Linked DNA regions of Homo sapiens: region 2 is linked to region 1. Evidence: promoter capture Hi-C in 16 types of primary human blood cells and fetal thymus (Javierre and others, 2016). All regions are on one chromosome and are shown on one strand. Each heading gives the region's core, a stretch centred on a gene start or on the middle of the fragment in contact. The rest is flanking DNA. Distances are from core to core; before and after follow the strand shown. Region 1 holds the start of SLC16A10 (solute carrier family 16 member 10). Region 2 overlaps REV3L (REV3 like, DNA directed polymerase zeta catalytic subunit).

Region 1 (6,416 bases), core at 3,107-5,606:
GGAAGGATCAGTAAAGGCTTCAGAGAAGTGAATTCCATTTTAGAGTGGAGCCTTGAAGATTGAGTGAGATTTCACCATTAGGAAAAGGGGAGAGGTGGTCATTTCAGAAGCAGGGTCTGCAGGGAGGAATAGAGGTGTTCATACTTGTTCCTGAAATGAGGAGCAGGCCTTAAGACTGCAGAACAGAGTTTCAGCAGGTATAGGTTAGAGGATGAATTGGTGCAGGCAGAATTTGTTGGCAGCAAGACTAATTAGTAGGTCATTATGATGGTCCTTGAGAAATGATAAGGAATCATTAAGGAATCAGCAGCAAGGATGGAGAGTAGGGAACCAGGCAAAAGACCTTCTGGAGCTAGAGTTGACAGGATTGCGTTTGAGAGAACCAGGGGAGAAGTATATTAGGAAGCAGACCCAGGTTTCAGCTTGGATTTGGGAGGATTAGGAGTAATACCAAAGGAGAATCAGGTTGAGGGGACTTCTGAAAGAGAGGTAAAAAAGTGGAGATGAGAGAATTAGTTCAGTCTCATTTTTAAAGTGCATTTTTTGGCCCTGCGTGGTGGCTCACGCCTGTAATCTCAGCACTGTGGGAAGCTGAGGTGGGCAAATCACTTGAGATGAGGAGTTCGAGACCAGCTTGGCCCAACATGGTGAAACCTTGTCTCTACTGAAAATACAAAAAATAGCTGGGCGTGGTGGCACGTGCTTGTAATCCCAGCTACTTGGGAGGCTGAGGCAGGAGAATCACTTGAACTCAGGAGGCAGAGGTTGCAGTGAGCTGAGATTGTGCCACTGCCCTCCAGCCTCGGGGACAGAGAGAGACTCTGTCTCAAAAAAAAAAAAAAAAAAAAGGGCCAGGCACAGTGGCTTACACCTGTAATCCCAGCACTTTGGGAGGCAGAGGCAGGCGGATCATGAGGTCAGGAGATCAAGACCATCCTGGGAGGCTGAGGCAGGAGAATCACTTGAACCTAGGAGGTGGAGTTGCAGTGAACCGAGATCTTACCACTGCACTTCAGCCTGGGTGACAGAGCGAGACTCTGTCTCAAAAATAAAATAAAACAAAATAAAAATAAATAAATAAGACTGTCCTAAATAGGAAAGGTTGGTCTTTTGAAATAGAATAAGGAATCAAGTGGATTGTTTTGTTTAATAAATAAGTTTAACATAAACTGCTGATGAAAAGGCCTACATAAAGCACTGTTGGCATTTAGATTTAATGAACTATTACACCTTTTAAAATTTTATAAATCTTTTTATCTGATCTCAAAGCACTTAATAAATAGGAACTCATTAAAAACATACCATCACTGCGCTGAGCATGGTGGCTCATGCCTGTAATCCCAGCACTTTGGGAGGCCAAGGCAGGCAGATTACGAAGTCAAGAGATCGAGACCACCCTGGCCAACATGGTAAAACCCCATCTCTACTAAAAATACAAAAATTAGCTGGGTGTGGTGGTGCACGCCTGTAGTCCCAGCTACTCAGGAGGCTGAGGCAGGAGAATCGCTTGAACCCGGGAGGTGGAAGTTGAAGTGAGCCGAGATTGGGCCACTGTACTCCAGCCTGGTGACAGAGTGAGACTCCATCTCAGGAAAAAAAAAAAATACCATCACTATGTCACTATGCTGTAGTTATAAGTAAACAGGTTCATATTTTCAGGTGGAGAAGATGAGGTCAATCCAATAACACAATGTGAGTTGTTGATTAGTGTGGACATAGAAATAGAAGGTAGTTTTCCTGGACACCTAAAACTCTGCTCCATTCAATAGCCTATTGGTAGTTAGAAGTAAACACTCTTTTTTTAAAGAGATGGATTATTACTTATGTTGCTTGAGGCCAGGAGTTCGAGACCAGCCTGGTTGCTGGTCTCAGCAATGTTGCTCAGGCTGATCTCGAATTCCTGGCCTCAAGCCATCCTCCCACCTGAGCCTCCCAAAGTGCTGGGATTACAGGCTTGAGCCACCACACCTTGCCTCATTTGTTACAATTAATGACCCAATGTTGATACATTATTATTAACTAAAGCCGACATTTTGTTCATATTTCTTTACTTTTAATCTAATGTCCTTTTTCTGTTCCAGTATCCATCCAGGATATCACATTACATTTAGTTATCATGTCTCTTAGGCTTTTTTTTTTTTTTTTGAGTTGGAATCTCACTGTCACCCAGGCTGGGGTACAGTGGCGCGATCTCAGCTCACTGCAACCTCTGCCTTCTGGGTTCAAGCGATTCTCCTGCCTCAGCCACCTGAGTATCTGGGATTACAGGCCCACGCCACTATGCCTGGCTAATTTTTGTATTTTTGGTAGAGATGGGGTTTCGCCATATTGGCCAGGCTGGTCTCGAACTCCTGACCTCAAGTGATCCGCCCGCCTCGGCCTCCCAAAGTGCTGGGATTACCAGCATGAGCCACGACACCCAGCCCTCTTAGACTCTTTTTTACTGTGACAGTTTCTCAGACTTTCCTTGTTTTTGATGACTTTTACAGTAATGAAAGTACTTAATGGGTATTTTGTAGACTGTCCTTGATTGGGATTTGTCTAATGTTTTTCTGATGGTTAGCCAGGGATTATGGGTTTTGGCAGGAAGACCACAGAGGTAAAGTACCATTTTCATCACATCATATCGGGGATACATTATCATCTAGTTGAGGTACTGTGTGCCATTTTTTGCACCCTAAAGTTATTTCTTCCCCCCACTCCCCCTTTCCATCCTATACTCTTTGGAAGAAAGTTACTACGCATACCCACACTTAAAGAGTAAACCATTGTACTTCACCTCCATGAGGGAGGGAGTATGTTCATAAAGTATTTACATTTCCTGCAGGAGAGATTTGTCTATTCTCTCCTCATTATTTATTTAATCATTTACTTACATCAGTACTGACTCGTGGATAATTCTTACATATGTGTTTGTTTGTGTGCATGCAAATATATAATCGATGTGCTTTCTTTGCCCAATAATATGTTGTGGACAACTTTCAAAGTCAATAAATACAGATGACCTTCAGAACTTTTAGAGGTTTTAAAGTAAGTATCTAATCAGTCTTCTACCAATGTACATTATACTTCCAAATTTTCCTTATTTCCAACAATACTGGGGTATCATCTTCATACATACATTTTTGTGCACTTATGTGCCTATTCCTTTGTTTACTATTTTACCCTCATTTCTAAGGCAGATTACACTTGAGCTATGTTCCCCATTCCACAACCAAGCACGGCTTGCTTTCCTTAGTTTATGCTATTTTCTCTACCTGGAATGCTCTTTTCCTGTCTTGACCCACTGAAGTCGTATGTATGAATCAGGGCTTCGGCCAAAGGCTGTTTGCTGTAGAGGCTCTTCTACAGTGTTTGGAGAGAATTTAAGGGACTATCTCATCTCTCTCTTTTGTACATGTATTATAACACATCATCTGAGCCTCCTAGTCTCTCCCAGGACTCTTTTTTCCTACCAGTTTATCAACTGATAAGAGGCAGAAACGAGATCAATCGCACTCATCTGTGTACTCTATCACAGTGGTGGGCACATCAAGTAACTAGCATATTTTGACTTTGATTGAAGTGAAGAATACGAATAACAGAAATTAAGAAGCATCCTCAATATTGCATAGCAGGTTACTCTTCTTTTCTTTTACATAGGATGGCACTCCATGCTTCAGGGAGACAGAGGAGTTGAATACAGGTTTTAGTTTTTGTTTAAAGTGAAAACGACTCTGATGTAGTTGAAAAGTAATGCTTTCTAGCTGTCTGTTAAAAATGTTTGTTGGTTGAAGACTTCGGAATTGCAGTCCAGTGAGGACTGAAAATAAGCATCTTTGGTGTGCCAAATATTCATAAGGAAATTGTATACGAATGCAAGAGAATGGAACTGAAGTAATAAAATAAGGGCTCTGATCCTTCAGATGACTTATTTAAGAAGCCAGGTGGCATAACGAATCTTACATATTATAATTAGTACTGAGAGGTGAATGCCAAAACATAAAACAAACACAATCGAGACAATGTTAGTGTGACTGTGACGCTGTGTCGGTGAGTTGAGGCTAACGATCCAGTGTGGCTCTCCTGAAGGCCCACCGCGCCCGCACCTAGGAGACGCGCCCCTTCTGCTCATGCTTTGAGGCGGGGTGACCCACACATCTGTGCCCCTCTCTGAGCAGGAGGAGGCCCCGTCGCAGACGCGCGCGCAGACAGCGTCTGCCGCGGGCACCTGGGGCCGCGCGCCGCGGGGCGCCCCGCCTCCGCTCTCCGAGGCCCAATCATCTGGAGGCTGTGGGGGCACGTCCCGCTCCCGGCCACGCCCCCAGCCGGCGGGGCGGGGGGTGCTTTTAAGAACCGGCGGCTGGCAGTGGGCTCAGTCGGGGGTGCGGGGCTGTGACCTAGAGGCTTCAGTGTCGATCCCCGAGGTGTTCGCGCGCGCCAGCTGTCCTCGCGGCCGCCTGCGCGCTGGCCGCCTGCGCGCTGCCAGCCCGCCCGCCCGCCAGGGGCTCCGCCGCCCTCGCCTCGGCCTCGTTAGCCCGCCAGGAGCCCCGCAGCTCCTCCGGGAGCCCGCTGGTAACTCGCGTCCCTCGCGCTTCTCCGGCGCCTGAGGGGCCCGCCTCGGGCCATGGTGCTCTCCCAGGAGGAGCCGGACTCCGCGCGGGGCACGAGCGAGGCGCAGCCGCTCGGCCCCGCGCCCACGGGGGCCGCTCCGCCGCCCGGCCCGGGACCCTCGGACAGCCCCGAGGCGGCTGTCGAGAAGGTGGAGGTGGAGCTGGCGGGGCCGGCGACCGCGGAGCCCCATGAGCCCCCCGAACCCCCCGAGGGCGGCTGGGGCTGGCTGGTGATGCTGGCGGCCATGTGGTGCAACGGGTCGGTGTTCGGCATCCAGAACGCTTGCGGGGTGCTCTTCGTGTCCATGCTGGAAACCTTCGGCTCCAAAGACGATGACAAGATGGTCTTTAAGACAGGTGAGGCGCGGCGCCCGCCGAGGCCAGCCTGGGCGACCCGCGTGGGGCCCCCGAGCGCATCCCGCGTGTGGGCTGTGTCTGCCTCCGAGTGTGCATGTCGGTGGGTCCCTGTGCCAGAGGGTGCGAGCAGGGGGGTCTTTCGAGTTGCAGACAGAGCCTGCCGCTTCTGGGGCCTCGGGGTGCCCGTCTTTATATGGAATCCAGCTGCAGAGCTGTGTGTTTGCAAGCAGGTCGCAGAACTTACTTGCCGAGATCGTCCTCCTTTCCCCTCAGCAGAGCAGACGCTAACAGTCCACAGGAGCCCTTCCTTTTATTGTTTGAAAACAAACAGAACCCCAGAACCTTCAACCCCAGTCATCGCCCTGTCATTTTTGTGGTCTCTTTCGTGACTATGCCAGTTATGTAGTTCTTCACCTGCCTCCCTGGGCCGCAGAGGGGTGTGCGTATGTTGGCGGGGCGGGGGGTGGAGTTTGGAGGAATGAAAGAGATTTGTACGAAGGTCACTGGAGTTCCAAAGGGGGCCCTGCAAGAGTCACGGTTCCGTGCGTTCCCGTCCCCCCGCCTTTTTTTGCCCTCTGGGTTAAATGTAGAAAACACGGGAGGCAGCCGGATTAGGGACTAGGATGAGGAAGGTGAAGGGTTGCTTCTTCCCTCTTCCTGTTGTGTTTTTTGACATTTTTTTTTAACCATATAGTAAATTAGATACAAAAGGTGCAGATTCAGCGTTTTCTCCCTGTAGAGCATTATTATGACTTTTTGGCTGGTTAGGCAAAAAACAAATCTAAGACCTTCTGCATGACACTTTAACATAAATTCTTTCACTTTATCCTGCAAGGTGAGCGCGGTCAACCCCATTTGGGTGAGAAAACTGTAGCTCAGTGAAAGTGTCTTGGTGGGTAGTAGAATGGCAATAAAACACATATCAACTGACTTCAAGGGCTAAGTGATTTCCATTACTAAATCAACCTCCCTCCCCATCATTTGGGGTAACTTTATATGATTAATAGTCTTTTTTTTTAACCTTGATTTTCTATTATTTTTAGAGTGAATATTTCTTAGGTCTTTAGTATGCATATGAGGAATGGGCAAGACTGTAATAAATTCTGAGACAAAGGTAATGCTGGGTTATGCTGAGAGTTTTAAAACCTGACATAAATACTATTAAACTATTTGTATCATTCTGCAACTTACTTTTCTTCCATTCCGCATCATGTTTGTGACTTATCCACATAATACCTCAGTGTGAACTGATAACTCAAATTCTTTCCATTTTAACTTAGGTGGTTTGCATTGTTTGACTATATTATACTCTATGCATTCTCCCTCTGATGGGCATTTAGATTGCTTCCAAACTCATTCTAAACAATGCTGCAATGAATATTCTTGTACACTCTCGTTATGCATGTGAATACGGTACCATTTTAACCTGGAATTTCTGTTCTTTAAATAGCTATTGAAACTGCTGTG
Region 2 (6,023 bases), core at 2,869-5,368, 390 kb after region 1:
AACCCAGTATGCTATTAAAGGACTTCACCAATCCTGGATTACGTAAAAAATAATTACCCTACCTTTTTTGTTTCTTTGTTTCATATTTAAATCTTTAACTCCTCTGGAAGCCAACATTATTTTTCCAGATGACTAACTGGCTATCCCAACACTGTTTATTAAACAATTCTTCTTTTCCCTACTCATAAATGAAGGTGGGATCCATTTTCATATACAAGTTGAATACCCCTTATCTGAAATGCTTGGGACCAGAAGTGTTTCAGATTTTAGAATATTTGCACATACATGAGATATCCTGAGGATGGGACCAAACCTGAATGTAATTTTATATAATTTTAAATAATGTTACACATGAAACAAAGTTGTTTTGATTGTTTTTGAGACAGGGACTTGCTCTGTCACCCAGGCTGGAATGCAGTCATACAATCATGGCTCACTGCAGCCTTCACCTCCTGGGCTCAAGCGATCCTCCTGCCTCAGCCTCCCAAGTAGCTGGAACCACAAACGTGTACCACCCTGCCTGGCTAACTTTTGTATTTTTTTGTAGAGATAGCGTCTTTCCATGTTGCCCAGGCTGGTCTTGAACTCCTGGGCTGAAGCAATCCTCCCACCTTAGCCTCCCAAAGTGTTGGGATTACAGACATGAGCCACTGCATCCAGCCTGAAACGAAGTTTTGACTGCGACCCATCATGAGGTCAGGTGTGGAATTTTCTACTTGTGGCATCATGTTGGTGTTCAAAACATTTCAGATTTTGAAGGATTTCAGATTATGGAGTTTTAGATAAGGGATGCTCAACCTATATTAAGCTCTCATATATATTTAAGTTAATTCTAGTCTTTACTCTGTTTTAGTGCTGTCATGTGCCAAAACCATGTTACTTTTCAAAACATTTTAAAATTAAAACCACTTTACATACAAGTAAGAATAATACAACCAGAAATTACTGGCTTGCTTTAATTTATGAATCATTTTGCAATTTCTAAATGGAATTTATATAATTAAGTTCAATATGATCATCATGCAATCATGCATTTTGGTTGACACATATTTTGGAGACCATTACGAATCTCATGTCTCCCACTACATTTCTGGAACCATATCTAGAAAATCAATTTTTCCTTAATTTTGTACATGGTTTTTTTAAATTATAAAATCAGCACATGTTATCTGTAAAAAATCTGAAAATATAAAACATACCTTCCAGAGATAACCAACTTTTATACTTCGGTGTATTTTTTTCCACACTTTTAATAAGTGACTATTTTGTAAACTAATTTTTTCACATAATATGACAGCACTTTCCCATGTTATTACACATACTTCTACAACATGTTTTAAACACATCCTCCCAAATGAATATACCCAGTTTATGCAACCATTTGCCAATTGTTGAACACTTAGAGTTGTTCTCTGTGATGATTATCATCTATTTATTAATCCTTGCCACAAATGAGTTCCAAGAATTAATAGACGAGTTTCAAGCACTGTGGTAAGCATTAACTCTATAATGGTGAGGAAAAAGAAACACATTATCAGGATTTCTGGAGGTTACAATCTATTTGGAAAAACAGATGTTAATCTCCAACACATATGAAATTACAATGACAGCAAGTGCTATGAGGAGAGTTCATGGTGCTCTGAGAGTCTGTGATAGGGAAGCCTTCCCTGAGGAAAGATAAATCGAAGTTTAGGTGAAAGAAAAGTAAAAACATTCTCAGCAGGGGCAACGGCAGGTACAAAGCCCTCACTGTGGGAAGGAGCATGGCAAGAACAAGGGACTGAGATAAGGCCAACAAGGCTGGAACAAAAAGAGTAAGTCAAGAACATGGCTCAAGTCATGACTAGACAGAAAGGTAAGGGCCAGACTATGCAAGACCTTGTAAGACAGGCAGATGCCACCATATAAGACACAGAGTTCTGTCCATATCCTGAATGCAATGGAAAGCTACTGAAGCATATCAAACAGTAGGGTGATGTAATCAGGTTTGCATTTTTAAAAGATCCCTCTGATTACAGTGTAGGAAACAGATCAGAAGGGGACAAAGTAGATTGGGATAAACCAAGATTAGGAGGCTACTGTAGTAAACCTGACCAAAAATGCTAGTAGTTTAGGGTGGTGATGGATTATGAAAAGAAGTAGACGGATTCAAAAGACAACCAGATTTGCCAAAAGATTTATGCTCATAGATTAAAATCCCTAAAACTAGAATTACTGGGTCAAAAAAGAACACTTCAAGGATTCTAATATACATTGCCAAACTGCCCTGCAAAGAGCAGTTGTCTTCATCTGTCAATTACCTTGTAGCTGTTCCTCTATCTGAAATTTTAAGTTCCTTAAAAATTCCTTTAACATGACTAATCCATATTTCCTTCACGAAGTCTTCCCTGACTCCCCTTTTTGCCTGGATATAGAACATGTCTCCCAATGAATCCTTGCTTTGTCTTATACACATTTCTATAGTCCAGTCATACTGCATTTGACTTACGTTTACATGCCCATCATCTCTACTACATTGTGAGCTTCTGGAGAGTAAAGCTGTTCTTAAGGCACTTAAAGCTAAAACAACTTGCTACTCAGGGCTTCAAATACCTACTTTAAAAAAAGTGACCAATTTGTTTGTGATGAGTCATTACATCTCCATAGCGTTCCTGAAAATCTCTCCAATAATTGTAATCAAATAGGTGTTATATGATCTTAAAATATTTTTAAATAGCTTAGTAAAAAACAGACTATGAACAAAGCAGATTCTATTAGAGAAACTTTTGAACCTGAGTTGTTGATACACGCTAATTTTCAAAATTATTCTTATTGCAAATTTAACTCCAATTTACCAAAAAAAAAAAAAAAGGTTATTCTGGTAGTTTCTTATATTTAATTTTATAAAATATAAACAATGAGAATATATTTATAATTGGATAAGCATCTACATAAACTTATATAGCATTTCAGAATTATCAATTCCTTATGTTGAAAAGCTTGATTTCATGGCTAACAGTATCTAGAACAATCTACCAAAATATTCACTAAGCTAGAGGAAGTGGCAGAGTTCCTTAGAGTAATCTTAAAGACAAGCAGCTCCCTCTATAGTCTGTCTGGCCTACTTTGTTTAATTCCTTGCTTTGTGGACATCCCACACTCTTCTATTTACTCCTACTCTGCATCTCAGCAGGGAAGCTCTTTGAAAGGATAGTTCTGTTTAACCTGGTGCTGAGGAAACTGTGAGAGCTGTCTAAACTCAGCATGAAGTGAGTTACATCAAGCAACTAAGCAAAAGTCGAGATGTGGAAAATGGACAGCTTCCCAAGTCCACCTCAGTCAAATCCTTAAATGAAGCCTGATGATTTCATTTGTAGTGAATCCTCTGAGTGGTCACACCTATATTCAAATCTAAATGAAAAAACATTGTCCTATACTTTATTCACAACCTTTCTTCCCTCCATTAAAACAAGTTACCAAAATGTTGTTCTAAAAGAAAAAATTAACAATTTATTCTACAAATGATACTGCTCAATTTGATTATGTCAAAATAATGTTCAAGACATTTTAAAAACTAGTTAAAAAAATGGAGAGGAAATTTGTTTTTGTTTTTTAAAAAATTCCATAACTCAGATGAAGAAACTTTAAGTGATTCCCTTAGGAATCAATATCCTCAGTTGGCAAGGGATTAAATCAGTCAGGATTTACCATTCAAATCTGAATATCCCCCCCCGCCTTTTTTTTTTTTTTTTTTAAGACAGGCTCTTGCTCTGTTGCCCAGGCTGGAGTGCAGTGGCGTGATCTTGGCTCACTGCAGCCTCAACCTTCTGGGCTGAAGCGATTCTCCTGTCTCAGCTTTCCAAATAGCTAGTACTACAGGTGCACACCACCACGCCCAGCCAATTTTGTTTGTTTGTTTGTTTGTTTTGTACAGACTATGTCGCCCAGGCTGGTCTCCAACTCCTGGGTTCAAGCGATCCTCCTGCCTCTGTCTTCCAAAGTGTTGGGATTACAGGCATGAGCCACAGCACCCAGCCCTGAATATCCCTCTTTTTAAAAATACCTTTTCAAATTTCACCAACTTAAGACATGGGAGCTTTTAAACCCAAAACACTTTATTTCTTAAATTACTCAAGATACGTCCTCAAAACACAGAACAATCAAAAGTCAACTGGACTGTTTTCTAAAGCAGAAAAATGCTTTTCAGGCAATAATAGAAAAACTAAACTAGTAAAAGGGTATTAATCCAATCAGTTCAGAATTTGTAATATAATTTTGAAACGGCCACTTCATTTGAGAAAAAATATCTTTGGTTGCTATTTTTCAGGATCTCATTTGTAAAGCAAAGTCAATTTTAAAACATTTTCTCTCCAAACCAAAGTAAAGCATTAAGGACCTCCCAAAGTAATTCTTATATATGAAAAAAGTATGTTTATGCTATTTTATGTAGCATAGGTTTATCATGTGTTACACATTTTTATTACCTTATTTTACTTGTTAGTAAAGATATAAACTATAAAGATATAATACAAACCATGTTTATATCTTTGCATTATGTTTACATCTTTACTTTCAAATAAATCTGTCTTCATTAAAAATTCTAGCATTCAGAGTTTTACTAAGTCAGACTGGCCTCTCTTTTATATTAATAATTTTCAAGTTTTATTTTATTGGACTAGTTTTCCTTGGGGAGATAATTCAAAAGCAGGTAATTCTGCAGTTTTTGATTATGTTTAATTAATATTAATCTCACTGGGAGTTTCTGACGTGCTAATAAAAATGCTGGCTTGGTTTATGAAAAGTGTAAACTCTAAATGTATGCCAATGACTTCAAATTTTTTCTTGTTGAAACAAACATTTTGTTGGAAACTGTGAACTACATGGCAAATTCAATTTGATAATCCTTAACAATTTAAAATTTGACTTTCTCTGTATCAAGTTTTATGTCTTTCAATGTACATATAAAAAGTGTTACTTTTTAATTCATTTAAAATATAAATTTCAAAGTATGTACCAAAAAAAAAACCCCAATGGGGGTTTTTAGTCTTTGGTTTTTTCGTTTTTGTTTTTTTTTTTTTTTTTAAGGTGCTGGTAATCTATTGTGGGATGTCCATGAAGGATTAAATAGGAAATAGTTAATGTGTCTTTTAAAAAATATTCAGGAAAACAACAGTATATAATATTCTTTATTTTTTAAGGAACATTTCCTCACGTAATAGAATTACATTAGCTTACAGTGAAACTCATTTATTTCCACAAACGAAACTTTCCTATACAACAAAGCTTGACTATCTCTCAGGAAAACATATTTAATGACTTGTGTGGAGGAGAAAAAATTATGTGTGGAAAAGTAACTCAAACCATACAAGCTGTAATACACAGAAATGCCACAGTATATCCTATTAGCATGTCACTTTATGATTCGGAAATTTGGCTGAACAGGGCCATATCAACTTCACTATTTTATCCTTCCTCTGCATCTGAAGTGAGAACAGTGCATTACACTGAAATTCCAATTGGAAACAAAGACAGCACCACTATATTTAAAAGGGCAGAAAACCTATCTTATAGAACACTTCATCGCCTCGATTTCCCAGCCTCCAAAGTTTCAAGTGTTACACTTTCAACACGTTAAAAGCACTCAAATTCCCCATCTTTCAAGGTTCATATCAAAATCATATTCACTAGTTTAAATAGGAATATGCTACCAAATCTCACAACATTGACATTTTAACAAAGAGAATTCACATTAAAAGATAACTGCTTTAAAATGAGTGCTTGTGTTTGGGAAAGCGCTATTATCTTGGTAGTCCACAGAAACTGACTGTAGTAATAAGATGAATGGTGATGAGGGCAAGGAGCATCAAGTGGGAAATGCTATCTAAAATCCCATAGGGCAATTCATAGCTAGAGGGAAGAACAACCTTTCCTAAGATGCATTATTTCCTAGAACTCCATTATTTCATGGAAGCAGTTCAAAGCATGCAAAAAAGCAAAACCATTTTAAAACACCTAGTAAACTGGGCCTCTATCTTTTTTATATT

Evidence for each region. The method cuts DNA at HindIII sites, captures the fragments that hold promoters and counts their contacts. A CHiCAGO score of 5 or more calls a contact.
Region 2: a fragment that was not itself captured here is called in contact with the fragment with the promoter of SLC16A10 in region 1 in 6 of 17 cell types (fetal thymus, activated CD4 T cells, non-activated CD4 T cells and 3 more); the score reaches 7.6 in fetal thymus.

Annotation. Positions count from the first base shown.
Region 1 is chr6:111,083,147-111,089,562 of GRCh38, forward strand. SLC16A10 (solute carrier family 16 member 10) reads left to right here and starts at 4,357. Exons shown (of 6, transcript NM_018593.5): 1 at 4,357-4,949. The coding sequence starts at 4,607. RefSeq lists silencers at 4,038-4,717, 4,748-4,927 and an enhancer at 4,740-5,240. The HindIII fragment of the contact is 14,016 bases long and covers 1-6,416 here.
Region 2 is chr6:111,475,795-111,481,817 of GRCh38, forward strand. All of the region lies in intron 1 of REV3L (REV3 like, DNA directed polymerase zeta catalytic subunit), which reads right to left. Among named protein-coding and RNA genes, the nearest start is that of REV3L, 4.4 kb to the right of the region's middle. RefSeq lists enhancers at 1,358-2,250, 2,848-3,572. The HindIII fragment of the contact is 2,284 bases long and covers 2,977-5,260 here.